Regions from separate parts of the Homo sapiens genome. Here region 2 is linked to region 1. The links are contacts of gene promoters, found by promoter capture Hi-C in blood cells and fetal thymus (Javierre and others, 2016). All regions are on one chromosome and are shown on one strand. Each heading gives the region's core, a stretch centred on a gene start or on the middle of the fragment in contact. The rest is flanking DNA. Distances are from core to core; before and after follow the strand shown. Region 1 holds the start of VPS54 (VPS54 subunit of GARP complex). Region 2 holds the start of RAB1A (RAB1A, member RAS oncogene family).

Evidence for each region. The method cuts DNA at HindIII sites, captures the fragments that hold promoters and counts their contacts. A CHiCAGO score of 5 or more calls a contact.
Region 2: the fragment with the promoter of RAB1A here is called in contact with the fragment with the promoter of VPS54 in region 1 in 6 of 17 cell types (non-activated CD4 T cells, total B cells, total CD4 T cells and 3 more); the score reaches 7.9 in non-activated CD4 T cells.

What each region holds. Positions count from the first base shown.
Region 1 is chr2:64,016,269-64,023,728 of GRCh38, reverse strand. It overlaps VPS54 (VPS54 subunit of GARP complex), which reads left to right and starts at 4,301. Exons shown (of 23, transcript NM_016516.3): 1 at 4,301-4,791. RefSeq lists a silencer at 4,178-4,887 and an enhancer at 5,048-5,117. The HindIII fragment of the contact is 5,022 bases long and covers 1-4,939 here.
Region 2 is chr2:65,125,566-65,132,908 of GRCh38, reverse strand. RAB1A (RAB1A, member RAS oncogene family) reads left to right here and starts at 2,803. Exons shown (of 6, transcript NM_004161.5): 1 at 2,803-3,016. The coding sequence starts at 2,994. RefSeq lists silencers at 2,305-2,654, 3,155-3,204 and enhancers at 2,507-3,020, 2,765-3,024, 3,021-3,535, 5,059-5,598. The HindIII fragment of the contact is 2,599 bases long and covers 1,213-3,811 here.

The DNA.
Region 1 (7,460 bases), core at 3,052-5,551:
GACTCAAGAAACCATGACATAATAAACGTGTGTTGCTTTAAATTGCTAAATTGGCGATAATTTGTACATACCAATAGAAAACTAATATACCATAGTATCTTGGTTTTTCCCTATGCTTGGGGTGCAGTAAATTCTTAGTAGATTACAGCTGCTATTATTATAATAATCAAAATGGAAATCTGAAATATCGAGGTCAAGAAAAAAGTTAACAGAGAAATTTAACAGAGTTAAATAATTGCTTCCAAAGTAACCAAGCGGCTGGTGTAGAAGACAAAAAGATGATATGTTGAAGACTTGTATATTACTCCCAACAAGTATTGAGTACATTATCATCACCACATAAAATATTATAAATTTTCTAGTGGTGCTTATATCTACATTTAGCTTTAATATCTTACACCATACTCAAAGTAAACTGGAAAGTTTTCCTACATTAAGATAGTCCTATATTACCTATGAAGAAATATCAAAACACAGTTTCAGGTTAGAGTCATATTGTTATAAATTATCATTTATATTTTTATATACTATATATTAGCTGTATCAAAAATTGTAAAATTTTTTAAATTATAAAAACACATATAATTATATATTTATATATATAACATTTAAGAATAGCTCAAATATGATGCATAAAATAATTCAGGACATTATTGGATCCAAACCCTAATGAAACAATTACCAGCTTGACACCTTCAGTTCATTAGTGCATGTAAATCTTGCTTATCAAAGATAGCTTATTTATACTAAACACACAATATAATTACACATATTTAGCTGTAGAGTAGGTTAAGAATGTGGATGGGTTTCCATTGCATAGATTCAAGGTTTGCTATCACAGAAAAAAGAAGCTAGTGCTTCTATCTTACTAAATTGGAAAATTATTTTTCTCATTGTTCATTCTATCAGTGCCCCCTTTCCCCTCTGTATTTATATAGCACGGGAATGTATAGTTTCTATCAAATAAATCATTAGAAAGGCAATGTTCAGGCCGGACATGGTGGCTCACGCCTGTAATCCCAGCACTTGGGGAGGCCGAGGCGGGCAGATCGTGAGGTCAGGAGATCACGACCATCCTGGCTAACACGGTGAAACCCCGTCTCTACTAAAAATACAAAAAATTAGCCAGGCGTGGAGGCGGGCGCCTGTAGTCCCAGCTATATTGGGAGGCTGAGGCAGGAGAATGGTATGAACCTGGGAGGTGGAGCTTGCAGTGAGTCGAGATCGTGCCACTGCACTCTAGCCTGGGTGACAGAGCAAGACTCCATCTCAAAAAAAAAAAAAAGAAAGGCAGTGTTCAGTGATTGAGTAGCTATGTTAACCTTACTACTGCCACCTATACAAATATGCACAGAATACACAGTAAACATAAACATAGCCCTTTTATAGGTGTTATGGCATTAGAAAATTTGCCATTCTCCCTCTAATTAGAACATATAACCTTGATGGACTATCACTTTTCATGTGATTGGTCGGTAACAGATATAATAAATATGCCAAATACAGTGTTAGTGACATGGTAGCTAAATATTTTCTTCCTGATTCCTTTTTTTGAAGGCAATGATGGAATCTTAACTCCTATCCATTTCTTAATTTTGTATTAATTTCTTAATTTTCTATCATCTGTGCTTTCTGGAAATGTACACTAATAATATATCTATACCTATTTATTTGTGATTTGGCTTTTAGCTCTCATACTGACTGAAATGATTCAAGTGATAGCAAGTGAACATAGTAATTAATTTGAAATTTATCTAGGTTTAAATGAAATTGCTTGCCCAGTTTACACACTTTAAAAAAATTTTTGCAAACCTGATCATCAGCATTTACTTTCCTGTTTAGATTCAAGATTATGAATTGTTCTGTGGAAAAGTAAAAGTAAAAGTAAACATTGAGCTGGATCTCTGAAAGAACTAAGCACGACACTCAATGTGTATTTTCTTCCTATGGTATGTTATCAACAGATGGATAATGAGGAAGCAAACCAGACTGTCTTGTTCTAGTGTCTGGGAGACAACTGACGGCTATCATTTAGTCCAAGTGCCAAGTTGGAATCTTTTCTGGAACAAGGTGGGGTATAAACACAAATATTTTTTTAAAGGCCAAACCAGCCAGGCTTAAGGAAGTTTTTGAACTGTTGTTGACTTCCTGAGGGGGGTCAAAATATAAGAATTTGCTAAATCCAATTCCTAGCATAATCTATGAACTGATTCTAGACATAAAGAAAAATTATTTTCCTTTCTGGCCTTAGATAAAACTTGGTTAATCCTCTTGTTAATATTTTCACAGTATAAACACATCTTTTTTAATAAAAAATTTTTAAACTGACAAATAATAATTATATATATTTATAGGATCCAATGTGATGTTTTGATATATGTACACACTGTGGAATAACTAAACCAAGCTAATTAACATATCTTTCACCTCACCTACTTTTTTTTTTTTTTTTAAGAGATGGTGTCTGGCTATGTTGTCCAGGCTGGACTCAAACTGCTAGTTTCAAGGCATCCTTCCACTTCAGCTGAGACTACAAGTGTGGGCCACTGTACCCAGCTTATTTTTTTTATGGTGAGAACATTTAAAATGTACTCTTGGCTGGGCGTGGTGGCTCATGCCTGTAATCCCAGCACTTTGGGAGGCTGAGGCAGGTGGATCACGAGGTCAAGAGTTTGGAGACCAGCCTGGCAAATATGGTGAAACCCCGTCTCTACTAAAAATACAAAAATTAGCTGGGCGTGGTGGTGCGCGCCTGTAGTCCCAGCGGCTCGGGAGGCTGAGGCAGGAGAATTGCTTCAACCTGGGAGGCAGAGGTTGCAGTGAGCCAAGATCATGCCACTGCACTCTGGCCTGGGCAACAGAGCCAGACACAGTCTCAACAAAACAAAACAAAGAAAGTACTCTTTTAGCTATTCTGGAATATTAAATACATTGTTATTAACTGTGGTCATCGTGCTGTGCAATAGATCACTAAAATTTATTCCTCCTACCTGAAACTTTATACCCTTTGACTCACATTTCCCCTTTCCTCATCACCCTTTACCCCCCAGTCTTTGGTAACCACCATTCTACTCTGCTTCTATGTAAACTCATCTGGTTTTATAAGTGATCAGGGATTTAAGAGGACTTCACTCTTTTACAGTTAAATTTATTTCATATTGGGGAATGATTTTCTCACTTTGTTTCTTACATAATTTTAGAGGATTGAACTTAGAAAAATATAATGTAAGAGTTTTCTCTCAACTATTTTTGATGCTTCCTTACTTTTTGTCCTCTTTCCCCAACTTTAGCTCTTTGGTGGGGAAAATATTATTTCATAAAAGTTATGTTTGCAGTTTTCAAAGTGACTTCTTAGAAGTGAAACTTGGATCAACATTTTTTTCAACCCCCCAACTATAAGAGTTACATTTTCACTTTTGATTTGTTAAAACATACTATGTCTTATAAATGCTTGAAATTTATTTTTAGGCAAGAATTTCAACATTGAATAAAATCTTCCCAAAATTAAGTCACAAGCACTCAAAGGATTGAGGATCTTTTTCTTCCTAAAATATATGTGTGTGTGTGTGTGTGTGTGTGTCTTTATATTTATATACTAAGACCTTCCCTTTCTTGTGGACTGTGTTTTATTGGTTTAAAGTTGCAAGTCCTGTGAAACCAGGCTGAAGTCAGAATTAGAAGGTATTAATTATCATACACACTCCAAGTATCTCAGTCAAGTAACAGGAATAACTGATTACAGTGTCTGGGAGGAAGGCCTGGAACTTGGGGAAGACTTGGAGGGGAGGACTGGATGGGGAAAAGGCCTCAATAGAGAGAACTGGGTTGTTGCGGAGGGGTGACCTTTAACCTTTGGAAGGGCATTTACTAGGGAACAGCTGAAAAGCATTTACTTCGAGGGGGTGGGGGAGAGGAGGAATCTCGTGGAAGTATTTGCTTTAATAGGTCCCGGGTGATTTAGGGATGTTTCGAGTCGGTTGGTCTTGGGGGTGGCGAGGGCTACGCTGGAGGGGTCGCGTCCCAGTCCCGGGGAAGGCGGCAGGAGGTTTTCTGGGTGTTCCTGAAAACTGGGAGTTGGGGGGAAGGGTGGTGGGGAAAGTGGAATTCAGCGTGGATTTGTCTGCGTGTAGGACTATTAGAGGAGGCGCAGGGGAGCCACGCGGTGTATTCCCCGCCCCGAGAGAACTCTGGCTGCGCCTGCGACGGGCACGCCGGCCTGCGCCAAGGCCGCTTTCCCCAGGCGGCGGGCGCTCCCCCCGGCCCGGGCCGCGGCCCTCCCGCCCCGGCGGAGCCGCGCGGTGGATTGTGGGCTGGGGGCTGCGGCGGCCTCCGGCGCTGTCTCCCCGCACCCGACCGGGCCGAGCCGGCTGGGCCGGCGGGGTGAGGGAAAGCAGTGGAGTCGGGAGCAGAAGCGCTAGAGGCAGTGGTCGTGGCGCGGCGGCGGCGGCTCCCCTGGAGGCCGGGGATGTGGGAGAGGCGGTGGCAGCAGCGGCGGAGGCGGCGCTGCGGACCCGGGGGAAACTGCTGGCTGACAGGACACCCGGGAGAGACGTGAGGGAGCCGCCGCTGCCACCTCTCACCCCTGAGTGAAGCTGGGCTCGAGAGGGCGGCCCTGTGCTCCCCGGGCCGACTGGCCAGCGGGCGCGGGGCGGGGGCGGGAACCCGGGCTCGGGCCCGGCCGGGCGCCGGGCGGCGGCGGCCGTGGAGCAGCAGCCTCGGTGCGACGTGGAGGGCTGGAGGCGGCGGCGATGCACTAGGCCTCGCTCAGGGCGGCTGCCCCGGGACCCGCAGGTAGGTGTGCCCCGCGGCCCCCCGCGCGTCTCAGCCCACTCTCACCCCGACCTACAGCGGAGAGAGGGACCGAGACCCCACCCCCTCGGCTCTCCTCCCCAGCCCCAAACGGACCGAGTTTCGGTCACAGCTGACCGGCACTGAAGCTTCCATGCTCCTCTCCGCCACTTCCTTTTTTTTTTTTTTTTTTCCTTTTCACTCTCCCTCCGGGATCGGGGCTGGCAGCTGTGTTCCCTGCCTCCTGTCAGCGACCGCAAACGCCGCTCTTGCCCCTCTCTTATCTTTCCGGGATCCCAGCTCTGGAACTTCCATCACCCCCTTAGACGCTGCCCCCAAACTTTCCTTTTCTTTTTCCAGCCAGGCCCTTAGTCCTATTGGATTCTACTGGAATCGTTAAAACATTTGTTTGTTTTTCTCTCCGGGGAAGGCTAACCCAAAGAGTTACTCAGTATTTTGCATTTTGGCAATGTAGCTTGAAATAATTTGTGCAATAATTTTCTTCAGTTCTGCCTCCTTCCATCTCTGCATAGACAGAAAGGGCAGGCCCTCTCTGCCGTTTCTGCTCTCCCGTCGTTGACTTGGGAACTTTGGCTTGCCAATTATAATTAGCCGTTTGGTCTGTTCATGTGTTGAGTTCAAGATGGTATTTTTAGCATTTTGACTGACAGGCGTTTCAAAAAAAAATTTTTTTCTTCTAACCAGCTTTATTTTTTGGTCTTTATTGAGGCTCTTTCGAAGAATTAAATTGTTTGGACTGTTTTTGTTTTTAATTGGCTGTATTTCTGATTTGTCAAATCAAGGGCGGTCTTAATACTAAACGCCTTTAAGTAATACCGTGATAAATTACTTGTAGTATACCGAGAAATATTACTGCGATAACCTAAACTGCAGATTTTGATGTACATTCACTTTTATAAATCCGAAGGGGAGTTCTAATTGGAAAAAGCACCTTCAGAGCCTAAATGATTTCTAAGCAGTTAAATGATGGAACAGAGGGAATGATGGGATTTGTTTGACTGTATTTGTAGTGTAGTCAGAATCGGATTTCCTAGAAATGGATGTTGATGGTTCGTAGTGCTCATCATTGCTTATGATAGGTTACCAGTAGCTGTAATTGATAGTTGTTTGGGACGACAGTAGATGTTTGCGATTTTATTGTAATTTGGCTATTTTTAAATTATGTTCTGATAACTTAAGAATTATTACACTACCAATCTAAGAGGCAGTCTGAGGATCACTTTTTTAAATAAATGAAAAATGTTTTAATGGGTTTTTAAAATAAAGAATGCATCACAACCAAATCGTAAAGACTGTTTTGTTGTTGATATTCGTATATTTTGTTCTTGTAGAAGTATTGTTACTACAGCATTTGGCTTTCTGAAGTGTTTTTGAAATTAGAATTTAATACTAAAAGTTTACTAGGAAAAGGTGATTACTTTTGCATATGCTTATATTTTCTGGAAAGTTAAAATTGATTTCTGGATAAGATAATTTTTTGTGTCAGAATTAAAGTCAATTCCTATATAGCCCATGAAACGGCAAATTTTGCAGAATTTCTTCATCACACTCTTTTTTTTTGTTTCTTTTCTTTTTTTTTTTTTGAGACGGGGTCTTGCTCTGTTGCCCAGGCTGGAGTGCAGTGGCGCTATCTTGGCTCACCGCAACCTCCGCCTACCGGCTTCAAGTGATTCTTCTGCCTCAGTCTCCTGAGTAGCTGGGACTACAGGCGCCCCCACGCCTGGCTGATTTTTGTATTTTTAGTAGAGACGGGGGTTTCACCATATTAGCCAGGCTGGTCTTGAACTCCTGACCTTGTGATCCACCGGCCTCGGCCTCCCAGAGTGCTGGGATTAGAGGTGTGAGCCACCGCCCCGGCCCCGGCCCATCACACTCTTTTTTTTTTTTTTTTTTTTTTTAATCAACAAAAGTTAATTACAATTCCTCTTTCCTGCTCTTTGCTTTTTAAAAACTGCTTTATTGAGATAAAATTAACATACCATAAAATACACCCATTTAAGGTGTACCACTTGGCCGGGTTCAGTGGCTCACACCTGTAATCCCACCACTTTGGGAAGCCTAGTCAGGTAGATCACCTGAGGTCCAGAGTTCGAGACCAGCCTAGCCAACATGGTGAAACCCCGTCTGTACTAAAAATATATAAATTAGCCGGGCATGGGGGTGAGCGCCTGTCATCCCAGCTACTGGGGAGGCTGAGGCTGGCGAATCGCTTGAACCTGGGAGGTGGAGGTTGCAGTGAGCCAAGATAGCACCACTGCACTACAGGCTGGGTGACAGAACGAGACTCCATCTCAAAAAAAAAAAAAAAATATACAATTCAGTGGTTTTTAGATTAAATAATTGTGCAACCATCACCATAATCTAATTTTAGAACATTTTCATCATTCCCTCAAAAAACCTTTATCCATTAACAGTTACTCCCCATTCTCTTCACCCCACCCCCAGCTTTAGGCAACCACTAGTCTACTTTCTGTCTCAATATTGGCCTAATGTGGGCCTTTCATATAATGCTTCTTGGCTCATAGCTTCTTGAAAAGCTTTTCCTTTAAAATCAGTGTACATGTTAAAATTTTTTATTTGAGCTAGGGAATAAGCAACTGATCACCAATATTAAAAGTGATGTTGTAAATAACTGATACACTTTTTGGTTG
Region 2 (7,343 bases), core at 1,554-4,053, 1.1 Mb before region 1:
CCTTGGCCTCCCAAAGTGCTGGGATTAGAGGCGTGAGCTACTGCACCCGGCCACCAAGCCGTATTCTTTTCTGTAGCTCAGGATGCTTCAATCATCAGACCCTTCTTGGAGTCTCTTATTTTGAGGAACTCCCATGCATATGTACTTAATCAAATATGATTTTCTCCTGTTAATCTGTCTTAGGTTAATTTAGTTCATAAACTAGCCAAGGAACCTAGCAGGGTGGAGGGAAGTCATTTTTTTGCTCTCCTACAGAGAAAAGTAATTAACATTTACCAAGGGTCCCAAAGCCATTGTACTATATGCTTTACATTGTGTTTATTCAACGCTTACAGCTATCCTGTCACTTAGATTAAAAGCTACTAGGAGGTAATTTTTTTTTTTTTGGTGGTTGTTGTTGAGACTGAGTCTCGCTCTGTTGCCAGGCTGGAGTGCAGTGGCGCGATCTCGGCTCACTACAACCTCTGACTCCCTGGTTCAAGCCATTCTCCTGCCTCAGCCTCCCGAGTAGCTGAGATTCTGTAATCTCACGTGCCACACGCCACCACGCCCAGCTAATTTTTGTATTTTTAGCAGAGACGGGGTTTCACCATGTTGGCCAGGATGGTCTCGATCTCCTGACCTCATAATCTGCCCGCCTTGGCCTCCCAAAGTGTTGGGATTACAGGCGTGAGCCACTGCGCCTGGCAGGGGGTAATTCTTTGTTGGGAAAGAAAATAGTTAATTAAAGGAAGTTTGGGAGTATACTTCCCAGGGGAGGACAGATTGTATTTTTGGCTGAGGACGAGTTCTGGACAGTTTTCTGAGGGTTTTTTGGGGGTGTGTGTGTGTGTGTGTGTGTGTGTGTGCCTTTACTAGTGACTCAGGTCACAGTTTTCTGAGATTTTTTTTCTCCCCTCAAGACAGAATCTTGCTCTGTCGCCCAGGCTGGAGTGCAGTGGCCTCTCGGCCCACTGTAGCCTCCGCCTCCCGGGTTCAAGCAATTTTCCTGCCTCAGCCTCCCGAGTAGCTGGGATTACAGGCACGCGCCACCATGCCTGGCTAATTTTTGTATTTTTAGTAGAGACAGTGTTTCACCATGTTGGCCAGGCTGGTCTTGAATTCCTGACCTCGTGATCTGTCCGTTTTGGCCTCTCAAATTCCTGAGATTACAGGCATGAGCCACCGAGCCTGGCCAGTTTTCTGAGTTTTTATTTGAAATCAAAATAAGCTTTTTTTTTTTTTAATGGGCTTTAGAGTCCAGGGTAACGAACACTTTTTGGTGCCTATTACTGAACCATTCAGGGTATTCCTGGGGTGGTGACCGTGTTCATTTCAGAAACCAACATGTTCATTTCAGAAACCAAACTCGGGTAACTTTTGATAAGTTCATCAACTAAGGCCCATGGCAGAATTTGAGGGCTAAGGGGTGTAATTAGTGTATGGGTAGAAATAAGTGCCTTCTTTCTATATTTTGGCGTTGTAGGAATTTAAAGTGATTCTGCAGTAAGTCTCAGGAGACAATTTTCTTAGTTCTTAGAAGTTGGAAGATAAACTTTGGACAATGTATTACACTATGCCCTTTGTAATTAAATAACTCAAGATAATGTGTTAAAGTTTAGCGGAGATTTAAATTCCTGAGCTGATTAAAGAGAGCTGTTAAGGCCATAGGTTTTTTAAAAATGAGTTAATATTACTCCCAGAAATTGTAGGCACTATATAGTGATGAATTGCCTATTTTTATTGCTTATTATTTTCCAGTCTTGCAGAATGGCTCAGGGTTAGTAGCAACTAAAAGATAATACATTACAATTCAACCTGAAGGCCGGGACGAAGGTAGGAATTGGATTTTAGGCTGGCTCTGGGCTGTGTCCCTCCCATCCATGGGATGTGGAGCCATTGAAGGTTGTGGGGTCACGATGCAGGTGCTGTCTCAGAAAGATACATCCGACTGTGTGTGCAAATGGGCTGGGGCGGAGAGGAGAGAGAGAGGTAGAGTCCATTTGGAGACTACTGCAATAGCCAGGCTGACGAGTTAAGAGCGGGGCACAGTAAGAATGGGAAGAAATCTAAGAAGAAAATGGTAGTGCGCGGGGCCAACAATGGACGATGACCGAACCCAGGTGGGGATGGGTGAGTGACGAGAAGAACCGCTCCGTGCCGTCCAGGGAGCCCCTTGACTTCCCTTCTGTTCTTAGAGCGGACGTCCTCCTACCAGCCCCCAACCAGCGCCACCAGGGTGGCGCAAGCCTCAAGCTGGTCAGGTCAGCAACAGCCGCAACGGAGGCAGGAGCCGACACGCTCGTACCCCGGCCCCCTCCCCGCCCCCGCACCCCCGGCAGTCCCTCCGGTTTGACCACTCCCCCCGGTCCCTTGCCTCCCCCGACCCCCAGCCTCCGTCGGCCGCCGGCACCACCCTCCGCCCCTCTCCGCCCCCTCCCCCGTGGGGCGCTGACTCGCCCGGCTGCCACGTCTCACTGATGACATCACTAGGGCAGCTCGGCCTTAGCCAATCCGCCAGGGGGAGTCCGAGCGAAGTCCTAGCCAGCGAGTCAGAGGGGAGGGGAGCAGGGAGGGGCCGAGGGTGGGGAGGTGAGGGAGTGGGGAATGGGGCGGGCGACAACCCTTCAGGTACGCATGCCCCAGAGGCGCGGCGCTTGGCGGGAAGCTGAGTCCTGGCCTTGCGTCGCACTGTCTGTCCTCAGCTCGCGTAGCCGCGCTCGCGACTCCCTTTCCCGGCATGCCAGGCGGTGCGGCCGCCCTCTGGGCCGTGTAAAGGCCCCTCGGTCTAAGGCTTCCCTATTTCCTGGTTCGCCGGCGGCCATTTTGGGTGGAAGCGATAGCTGAGTGGCGGCGGCTGCTGATTGTGTTCTAGGGGACGGAGTAGGGGAAGACGTTTGCTCTCCCGGAACAGCCTATCTCATTCCTTTCTTTCGATTACCCGTGGCGCGGAGAGTCAGGGCGGCGGCTGCGGCAGCAAGGGCGGCGGTGGCGGCGGCGGCAGCTGCAGTGACATGTCCAGCATGAATCCCGAATAGTGAGTTCAGGAGAGCACCGGTCGGCTGGGTCCGTGGGCCAGCTTGGGGGATCTTAAAGGGGTCGAGGAGGGTTGGGGCAGAAGTCGGGGCATCGGCTGGGGTGAGGCGAGGGTGATGGGTCAGGAGAGGCTGGCGGCCGGGAGTCGGGCCCCATTGTCTGACGCGGAGGGGCGGCCGCGCGGGGGAGGGGTCGGGCCGGAGGGGTGAGCCGCCCGGGCCTGGACCGGGTCAGGTTAGAGGGCCTGACTGCGGGGCGGGTGCTGAGGAAGCCTGCCGAGGGGCCTGGGGCGGTGTGAAGGGGTATCTTCTCTCGGAGGCAGTGACTTTTGAAGGAGGACTTGTCTCTAAGGGGAGGGGATGGGGTGGGAGAGCCCTTCTAGAGGGCACTGTCAGACCCTGCGCCCGCACTCTGCGGAGCTGTCAGGATCTTCGGGGTAGAAACCAGCTTTACTTGTAAATCCTGAGCTTGTTGGCTCTCTCTCCTTCCATCCTCCCCGCCAGGTTTCAGGTAATATGGATGCTTTTCGGGACTGCGTGGGATTGAGGGGAATGAGTAGATGGTGAGAAGCAACTGAACATTTATTAGTTCTCTTTTTGAGTTGTGTCTTGGAGGAGTTGTTTAAGAGCTCGCCGGGTCCATTGCCCTCCTATAAAAACCTGGGCATTTGTGAGAATTTTGTTTTTTTTTTTTTTAAAGAGGACACCTAAGTCATTTTGTCTTCTGTGGGTCAAGGGAAAAAAAAAAAACTAAAGCCAAGAAATGTCTTTTTGATACTCGCAGATTAAAGGAAGCTTGCTGTCAAGTTGAAAGAGAAACGAACGGGACCTATGATAGATCTGTATGTAGGTTTTGGATTACCTGCTTGGATGCTTGCAGATAGGGAATGAGGTTCCATGACGTGTCATGAAAAGTTAATGCATTTCTTTTTCTTGCTTACTCAAGAAGTCACCACAGCAGATGTGACACACCTGGCACCTTTCCTGGGAACTGGTGTTCACTTCCCTTGGGTAGAGTTTGTTGGGCTCTCCTCAATGGCCCTTTAAAAATTTCCTCTACAGTTTACATGCATGTAAAGTAATGAATAATTGGAAGAGACCGAATTGGTATTCCTTTTCAGTGTCAAAGGCCTTTGAGGGATGGGGGAACATCAGTATTTGTTGTAAAAGTTGAGTTTATTTGCTGGTTTGGTCAATTACTGCTAGACATTTTCCCCTAAAAGGTCCACCCACCAGTTTAGCTGACTGTCATATGTGTGTCACATGGCTCTTGCAAAATGCTTACAAGTTTTGTAATAGTGTGGCTTGAAGCTGAAATCTTTTGCACTAAACAGAAACCGTAGTATTTTATTAGAATTTCATGTTTTAGAAGTTGAGGGTAGTGTTCTTGTAGTGACATTTGCTGTGTTGACAGTTTAAAAAAAATTTTTTTTCAAGGGCTCCAAGGACAAAGTTGGTTTTGCACAGTTGAACGGAGGTGAACTTGAGGTTCTTAATTTAGTAGTTTTCTTGGTAACAATAAAGAACATGGATTTACTGCTTTATCGAGGTTTATAGACCTCTACTGTTCAGGAAATTTTCTGAATTTGCTATATATATGTTTATTAGTGTAAATAAATCTTCAAGATTAGTTGAGAACTTTGACAAGTTACTCAGCCTCTGAATTTTTTTTCCCTTTTGTAAAATAGGATAATTGGAGTCATTATTCCTGTCAGGGTAGTGGTGAAATTCAAATGTATATAAAAGAATTTGAAAAACCGTGTGAGCATTCTTCAGGTGGTATGCATCATTTTCATGAAAGGCATTCTATTAGTACCAGGATTTAGGAATATAATCCTTGCGCTTAAGAAGTTTAGATATAGGCCAGGCGCGGTGGCTCACCTCAGTAATCCCAGCACTTTGGGAGGCCGAGGCGGGCGGATCCCGAGGTCAGGAGATCGAGACCATCCTCGGTAACACGGTGAAACCCCGTCTCTACTAAAAATGCAAAAAAATTAGCCGGGCGTGGTGGTGGGCACCTGTAGTCCCAGCTACTCGAGAGGCTGAGGCAGGAGAATGGCGTGATCCCGGGAGGTGGAGCTTGCAGTGAACCAAGATCTGGCCACTGCACTCCAGCCTGGACGACAGAGCAAGACTCCGTCTCAAAAAAAAAATTATTTATTGTTTTGAGACGGAGTTTCAATCTTGTTGCCCAGGCTGGAGTGCAATGGCGCAAATCTCCTCTCACCGCCACCTCCGCCTCCTGGGTTCAAGTGATTCTCCTGCCTCAGATTCCCGAGAAGTTGGGATTACAGGCATGTGCCACCACTCCCGGCTAATTTTGTATTTTTGGTAGAGACGGGGTTTCTCCATGTTGGTCAGGCTGGTCTCAAACTCCCGAAGTGATCCGCCCGCCTCAGCTTCCCAAAGTGTTGGGATTACAGGCGTGAGCCACCGCGCCCGGCAGAAATAGATTTTATACATGTCAAATACCAGTAGATATAGCAAATTCCAGATGTGTGGCATGGATGAGAGCAACAAGATTTCAGGGGGATGGTGGGTTGTGGTTGGCTATCTGGGTTTTGGAAGACTTTATAGAAGAGAGACCTGAAAGGGATTTATCAGCAATTAGATTTGGAGGAACAGAGGGAGTGACTAGGAATTTTCAAGGGGGAGAAGAAGGAGGAATGGCTCATAAATGACAAGGACAGTAATTAATAAGTAAATACGGTGTCAAATCATCCTTTCTTTTGAAGACTAATGACCTCAAAGGGATCAAACCCAGAAACAGTTTTTATATTTTTTCTGGGATCAAATACATGGGTATCTGGCCTACTATATTTGTATTCTAGACTGTTTAGTAAAATAATACAGGAATTTGAGAAAACCTTTGCAAAAGTGTTAGTGAAAATTACTTAGGGTGAGAGGAAGTGAGGGATATTTTATTAGGGGAGGTCACAAGGGCAGTGAGCAATCAGATTTTTAGTAATCTGACTTAAGCAGTTTCTTTTTGTTTTAATGAAGCTTGTTATCTTTATAAAAGTAATTAGAGAAAATTTGGAAAATAAAGGAAAGAAAGAAAAGTTCTTTAGTGTTTTATCACGCAAATACAAGCTCATTCGTTTTTAACATCTTGTTCCAAACTCCAAAGTCTTGCTTTCTCTTCAATTAAAACTTTAATGGGTGGATGCTTTTCCTGCTTCCAGTATGTTATCTTAATAACTAACAATGGTATATTAGCTAATGTTTACAAATGTACTCCAGATGTTCCTTAAGTTACTTTGGTTTATCATTACCAATTTATATTGTTTCTTTTAGAAATTTATAATCTTTGTTAATGGGTTCTGCTAAATTTGGTAGTGAAAATGGGATCTTGAGAAAAAAGATTCTGAAGCAACAGAATTTTTAGATTTATATTGGTTTACATAAGAGTTGGTAGCTGTATTACTTTTTTTGTTTGTTTTGTTTTTTTTTTGAGACGGAATCTTGCTCTGTCGCCCGGGCCTTGGCCTCCCAAAGTGTTGGGATTACAGGCGTGAGCCACTGTGCCTGGCTGTTTGTGTTTTTTTTTGTTTTTGTTTTCTTTTCTTTTTCTTTTTTTCGAGATGGAGTCTCACTCTGTCACCCAGGCTGGAGTGCAGTGGCGCGATCTTGGCTCACTGCAATCTCTGCCTCCTGGGTTCAAGCGATTTTCCTGCCTTGGTCTCCTGAGTAGCTGGGATTACAGGCATTTGCCACCATAACCAGCTAATTTTTGTATAGAGTACCCAGCCATCTCTAATGTTGATCAGGCTGAAGCAGGTGGATCACCTAAGGTCAGGAGTTCAAGACCAGCCTGGCCAATATGGCAAAACCCTATCTCTACTAATACAGAAAATTATCTGGGTGTGTTGGCTGGCGCCTGTAATCCCAGCTACTCGGGAGGCTGAGGCAGGACAATCTCTTGAACCTCGGAGGTGGAGGTTGCAGTGAGCCGAGATCACACCATTGCACTCCAGCCTGGGCAACAGAGCAAGACTTGTCTCAAAAAAAAAAAAAAAAAAAAAAAAAAGGCAATTGAAAGTGTAATCTGAACAGTTAAAAAAGTAGATAGAAAGGGTTAAAGCTTTTTTTTGAGGATCTGAAGAAAAATGTGGATTTTTTTTGAGCTACGTTTTGAAGCAGGCAGTGATTATTTCAGCACATTAAGAAATGCTTAACATGGCCAGGCGCAGTGGCTCACGCCTGTAATCTCAGCACTTTGGGAGGCCGAGGTGGGCGGATCATTTGAGGTCATGACCAGCCTGGCCAACATGATGAGACACTGCCTCTACTAAAAATACAAAAATTAGCTGGGTGTGGTGGTGCACG